2 separate regions of the Homo sapiens genome follow, and region 1 is linked to region 2. Evidence: promoter capture Hi-C in human tissues and cell types (Jung and others, 2019). All regions are on one chromosome and are shown on one strand. Each heading gives the region's core, a stretch centred on a gene start or on the middle of the fragment in contact. The rest is flanking DNA. Distances are from core to core; before and after follow the strand shown. Region 1 overlaps RIPK4 (receptor interacting serine/threonine kinase 4). Region 2 holds the start of C2CD2 (C2 calcium dependent domain containing 2).

Region 1 (3,239 bases), core at 479-2,978, 200 kb before region 2:
CCTTTCTGAAAGCTGCAGCTCAGGGCATGAAGCATTGAGGTTGAGAGCCCCTGGCACCCACAGGGGATGGGGGGCGGCATGTCACACACCTGTATACATCGTGCTTGGTGTCGAAGAGCCGGCTCTTCTCCCTGATGCGCTCTGGAGGGAGGTAGGCGATTGTGCCAAACAGGCCATCCATGCTGAGGTCATGCGAGTGGGACAGCCCGTTGCACTTGGCCAGACCAAAATCAGAAATCTGCAACACAGCCATCAGAGCGGGGCTCATTAGCCTGCAACAGTGATATTTTATGATGCTTTATCAAAAGCTCCCTTCTGCAATCTCAGAGGGTGGGTGAGAGCTTTCCAGGAGCCCCTAAGAGCCGTGTCTGTGCCTCTCCAGGTAGCCCTGCCCCAGGCAGGGAGGGAGACAGATTCTGGGGCAGAAGCAAGCCTGGAGGCATTAGGAGCAGCACATTTGACGGGCAGGTGAAAGAATCGTACTGTAAGGAAGGAGTTATCCGGGACAGAACTGCAGAAGAATTAGAATCCACCTTCTGTAAAGCATCATGTTTGCCATGGTGGTTGAGAGCCGGCTGAGCCGGCATAAAGGGAAAAAAACAAGCCTTCGAGGGTTCAGGTAAAGAGAGACACATGTGAAGACCAGGTCTGCTCCTAGAGAAGTCGGGGAGCAGGTTATGCAACCTGCCAGCTGGGGAGGCTGGCGGGCAAGTGGCTGCAAGTCCTTTAAAGGGAAACACAGAAACACACCTTCAGAAGCCCTTTAAACTTTAAAGCAAACAAAACACACGCCTCAGAGCCCCGTCCATCTGGAGTGTTTTGTGATCAGCAGACACTGGCTGGCTGCTTCAAACACATGTGTTCGAGTGAAGGTCTGATAAACACCTCTGCTGGCAGCGCCCGGGCCCCAAGGAGCACCGGCCACCCAGCTCCTCCAGGAATGCCCTCAACGTCCGCATTCAGGGGAGGCAGGTCTCAGGTCTCCTTCGGGCAAAGGTGACCTTGGAGCTCACTGGGGAGACTTCACAGACCCCCGGTCTGACCTCTCTCGGGGGCATCCCCTTTCCTGCCAGTGTCCTACCCTCTCCAGTGTAACTCAGTCCCCTTTGAAGCTGCTGAAAACCGTATGTGGGATGAAGACACAAGTCATCAGCATTAATGGGACTCTTGATCCAGGGGGAGTGCTGCTCTCAACTTTCCTTCAAGGCATATGGATTTTTTTAAAAACCCTTTTCATTAACTCTTGAGCTCCTCTCAAACACACCCATGGAGTGACAGGAAATGAGGCTGAGTCAGGCCTTAATTCTGGGCTGGCCATGCCCATGTGGTGAGCCAATAGGGCTGCTGTCATCAGCACCAAACAGCTGGGAGAATTTATGACCTGTGACTCGGGCTTCCAGGGATCCTGAGCACATCTGCAGGGAGGTAGGGGGGAAGGCCTGCGAGCAGGGACCGGCCCTCCTTCTCTGCAGCCAGGAGCACCAGGACAAGGCCTCGACTCCAGCGGCTCTCATGTCCTCCCACTTCCATTTCTCCCAGGGCCTTCAGGCCTGCACCGCCCTTGAGAGCCACACTCTGCACTCCAGGGAAAGCGCCAGCTCCCCAGAGGAACGCCATCACCCGACCCTGCAAACCCCGGCGGCTGCTGGACGCTGGGACACAACAACGGGTCCTAACTCTCCAAATAGCTCCAGAGCACAGGAAGTTTCAGTTCAACAGTCATCAGTGGCTTGAAAGCCTTCAAATTCAGAAATGGGCTGAACAATGAGAACACATGGACAGAGGGAGGGGAACATCACACGCCGGGCCCTGTCGGTGCGTAGGGGAAGAGGGAAGGGAGAGCATTAGGACAAACACCTAATGCATGCGGGTCTTAAAACCTAGGTGATAACCTAGATGGTGGATGGGTGCAGCAAACCACCATGGCACATATAAACCTATGTAACAAACTGGCACATTCTGCACATGTATCCCGGAACTAAAAGTAAAATAAAAAATAATAATAAAAATAAAGAAAGCATCACATACTTTCTAGGCAATTCCTCCTCCCCCTGTATGGTTGAATGTAGGAAAAAAATATCTCCCTCCCACGGTTAGTTAAGGATCAGACTCACTGTTCTAATCTTGCCTGTACAAGTTAGTAGCTCCGTGGCCCTGGACTATTAGCCTCTCTGTGCCTGTTTCCTTTTTTCATAAAAGGAGGCAATAGCAGTACCCATCCTGTAGCTTTGTTGTGAAAATTAAATGACATCTGAGATCATTAAGAAAGAAAAGAAAAGAAAAGAAAAACGACAGGGGTGCAGAGATCTCAGCCTGGTGCTTCCCCAGGCCTGCAGCCTTTTCTCCTCCTGTCTTTGTCAGATAGAGCCAGCCACTCCAAACTATACTTGGTGAAAAGAAAACGAGCAGAAATTCTCTGTAAAACCTCTGGCAACAAAATGCAAGCTCGGAATTGAGAATTCTAGGAGGGTCACTGACCCTCTATGTTCTCCTCCCTCCATGTCTCGGACTCCTGGCCGGCTGCATTTCCCCTCCGCCTTTCCTCATCTTCCCACCCAAGCTGCCCCTCACCCCGTGTCCTCAACAGCGAGCTACTGTGGCATCCACTCTGACCAGCAAATGCTTCAAGAGTTACAAACACTCTCATCAGCACCCGACTCTGCATCTCCAAGAGCTGAGGGCTCACAGCTGCCCCCAAGCACATGGCCCTTCAACTTCAAGGTCCAGCTGTCAAGACTAAGAAAGCAGCCTGCCGGGGTTTTGCTGCCTCTAAAAGAAAGACACAGCAGAACGTGACCCGCGTGTGACCCTTTGAAAAGCGTCTGTTTTGGGCTAACTGGACATATAAATGCAGCCTGAGATTTTAAACCAAGTTATTTCATTTTTAAGTTGAAATTGATTCCAACTAGTATCTTAATATTGGTATTTAGTATATGTAATGTTGAATAATATCAAGCATTAATTTGATACTATTACTTTGTATACTATTTACATTTAACTGCTTCATGAAGTAGACAGTTGCTGTGATATTTCCAGTTTGAATCGAGCCCTGAGCACTGAGGGAGCCCATCTCAGAGGCGAATGGCAGCACTGGAATGGCAACTTAGGATCTAATTGCAGGATTCTGGATTACAGTTTTCCTGCATTGAATAACTGTCTACTGAGGACTGCCCAGAAGCCCAGTGGTCAGTCCATGCAAAGCTTCCACACTTCGTCTTCAGGAACAAAGGCGCTGACTC
Region 2 (3,346 bases), core at 146-2,645:
GCGACTACAGAAACACCCACAGGACTGTGAGGCAGCAGAGGTAAGACACGAGGCCCTTAGCTTGCAGGCCAGGGCAGCTGGATTCACATGCCAGCTCTGCCGCCCACGAGCTGTGTGGCACTGGGCAGGCTGCTTGCCCTCTCCGGGCCTTGGTTTCCTCATCTGTAAAACAGTGATAACACCCCTGTCCCGGGAGTTGTGAGGATTCAGAGATGGCAGACGCACCGAAAGCCTCGGTAGGATGTCTGCCCAGCGGCTGGCCCTCAGCAAACGGTCACTATTTTTATATGCCAAGAAATGCAAGTCTTTGGAGATAAATTCTTGGTGAAATTCAGCTCTATGAGAGGCGGAAGCACATTGGGGTCACAGCTATTCATGTATCATGTGCAAGCTCAGTAAGTGTCCGATCGGGCACGGGAATTCGCCCCGGGACTCCAGGCAAGGCAGGTACTGGCTGGCGCGGATGAGCACTTCTGACGGTCCCTCCAACTGCCAGCCTGTCCCTCGCGGAGCCCAGGGCCTGGAGCACCTGCCGTTTGGAGAATAAAATCAATCACTTTGTCTTGTCTCTCCGTCAAGGGGCCTCGCTCCCCCGTCTCTCTCCTAACTCTCGAGGATGGTCTGCGCTGGGGGGAGGACTCCCTTAGCCTGGGTCAGGGGCTGCAGCGACGCCTCCAGGAAAGACCTCGGCCCGGACCGCCCGCCCCGGCATCTGCCGCCCCCCGGCCCGCAGTCCCGGAAACTCACCCCTTTCCTCTCGGCCTCCTCGTTCAGGGCGGTCACCCAGGCCGCCTGCCACTGGCTCCTCCAGCTGCCCAGCGTCAGGATCCAGGAGAGCAGCGCGTCGGACCCCGGGCGCGGCCCCTCTCCAGGCTCCACCGCCCGCCGCTGGGGCTGGGGTCGCGCCCTGGCCAGCGCCCACTGCGCCAGGTACAGGCCTACCGTGGCCAGGGCCGCGACGAAGAGCGACACCAGCGCGAGCCACTGCGCCTCCCCGAGCCACGAGCCCAGCCGGGCCATGGCCATGGCGCATCCCCGGCCCGCCTCGCCCCAACTTCCCCGGCAGCCCCGGGCCGGAACGGCGGACTCAGGACACGCGCTGGCTGCGGCCACAGCGCGCTGGGGGCGTGGAGGGGGCGCGGCGGGGTCGGAGCCCGGCGAGGAGCGTGGCCGGGGGCCTCTGGGCGGGCAAGCGGGGAGGAAACGCGCGGCGGCCGCGGCCCGGGCTGGGCGCAAGCCCCGCACACCTGCGGAACAGGGGCGCGAGCGGACCCCGCGGCCCGCGCTCCCGACTCGGCGTCTGGGAAGTTCCTGGGCCGCTGCGGGCCGCGCTTCCTCCTGCGCGCGCCGCCCCGGGCGTCCCGCCCGCGGCCCAGCGGTGGCCGGAGGAGGCTCTGGCCGCGGGGCGGGGCGGGGCGGGGGCGGTGCCCGAGGGAGGGGGCGCGGCCGGGCCTGCGGGGGCCGCAGTCCTCCCCCCTGCTCCCAACGCGGCGTGCCCCCGCCCCCCTAAAGGCCCGGCCTTCCCGGCCCCGCCACGTGCGCGCGTCGCCCGCCCCTCCGGCGCCTGCCCGCGGGCCGCGAGGTGACCCGGGCCTCCGGATTCATCAGCCCAACCCCGGCGGCTGCTGTGCGGCTGCTTGGCTTGGCTCGTGTGCGCGCTTGCACAAGTGCGTGTGTGTGCACATGTGTGAGTGTGCGTGTGCACAGCGCGCAGTCAGGGTGATTTCGAGGACTGCCATTTGCTCGCCAGCGAGACAGGATCCAGGCTCAGTCCTCGGAAAGTCCCTGGAAATCCGTGGCTGCCCCTGGAGCCAGGGGCTGGGCCTGCCTTAGGGGGCGTGCTTCTCAGAGGCAAGGAGGGGCTCAGCACCAGGCCCAGGCCCTGCCTTCTGTGTGGCTGTGTCATTCATTCAGTGTGCGGGTGGGGCGGGGGTGCATGTGGTGTGATGTGTGTGGCGCATGTGGTGTGATGTGTTGTGGGTGTGGTGTGTGGTGCACAGGATGGTGTGAGTGTGTATGTGTGGTGCATGGGTGTGGTGTGTGTGTAAGCGTGGTGCATGTGGTGTGGTATGTGTGTTGCGTGCCAGTGTGGTGCATGTGGTGTGTGTGATGTGTAAGCGTGGTGCATGTGGTGTGGTGCGTGTGTGGTGTGTCGGTGTGGTGCATGGGTGTGTGTACGTGTGATGTGTAAGTGCACAGCATGTGGTGTATGTGTGTGGTGTGTGGTGCACAGGATGGTGCGAGTGTGTATGGTGGTGCATGGGTGTGTATGTGTGATGTATAAGTGCAGTGTGTGTGGTGTGTGTGTGTGGTGTGTGTGTGTGATGTGTAAGCGTGGTGCATGTGGTGTGGTGCGTGTGTGGTGTCGGTGTGGTGCATGGGTGTGTGTACGTGTGATGTGTAAGTGCACAGCATGTGGTGTGTGTGTGTGGTGCATGTGGTGTGTGTGGTGTGTATGTGTGATGTGGTGTGGTGTATGTATGTGGTGTGTCAGTGTGGTGCGTGTGTGTGTGGTGCACAGGGTGATGTGAGCGTGTGTGTGTGGCACATGGGTGTGGTGTGGTGCTGTGTGTATATGTATTGTGTAAGTGCGTTGCATGTGGTGTGGTTTGTGTGTGTGGTGAACACGGTGGTGTGTGTATGTGTGGTACATGGATGTGGAGTGTGTGTATGTGTAATGTGTGAGTGCGGTGCATGTGGCGTGGTGTGTGGGTGGTGTGTCAGTGTGGTGCATGTGGTATGGTGTGTGTGTGTGTGGTGTGGTGTGTGGGACATGCCCCTGTGCCCTCCTCTTGCAGAGTGGACGCGGTCCTTAGGGAGTGCCATAGAAACATACTAGCCTGAGATTCTCCGGGGCCTAAAACAGGCCTAAACCATAAAAAAGTGATTCCCCTGTTATTTTCTGCAGCTGTATTAAGGGGACTTGACCTTGAAAGGAATTAGATAGACTGAGCATTTGGCCTTCTCTTCCCTAGCCAGGAGTCTGCTGCGGGGCCAGTGGATGGTCCATCAGAGGGGATTCTGGCCCTGAATCCGTGGGCCCGGATTTTCTTCAGGAAAGAGGAAGGAATGGCACAGCAGCTGGACGGAGAGCCTTTGTGGGGAACAGGATAGGACGCTGTCAGGGAGGTGAAATTAGACGGGGATTGCCCAGGTGAGCTGGGGATGGACCCTTGCGAGCCAGGTCTGTTATCAGAAAGTGGAAATAAGAATGAGACTATCCATCCTGGCTAACATGGTGAAACCCCGTCTCTATTAAAAACACACACACACACAAAACTCAGCCGGGCGTGATGGCGGTCGCCTATAGTCCCAGCTACTCGGGAGGCTGAGGCAGGAAAATGGA

What was found. The method cuts DNA at HindIII sites, captures the fragments that hold promoters and counts their contacts. A contact is called where the count stands out against the background at its distance.
Region 1: a fragment that was not itself captured here is called in contact with the fragment with the promoter of C2CD2 in region 2 in 1 of the 25 tissues and cell types used here (spleen).

The regions. Positions count from the first base shown.
Region 1 is chr21:41,751,008-41,754,246 of GRCh38, forward strand. RIPK4 (receptor interacting serine/threonine kinase 4) reads right to left here. Exons shown (of 8, transcript NM_020639.3): 3 at 90-238. Among named protein-coding and RNA genes, the nearest start is that of MIR6814, 5.8 kb to the left of the region's middle. RefSeq lists an enhancer at 1,834-2,625. The HindIII fragment of the contact is 5,083 bases long and covers 1-3,239 here.
Region 2 is chr21:41,952,623-41,955,968 of GRCh38, forward strand. It overlaps C2CD2 (C2 calcium dependent domain containing 2), which reads right to left and starts at 1,396. Exons shown (of 14, transcript NM_015500.2): 1 at 748-1,396. The coding sequence starts at 1,026. RefSeq lists an enhancer at 368-1,142 and a silencer at 1,019-1,688. The HindIII fragment of the contact is 14,094 bases long and covers 1-3,346 here.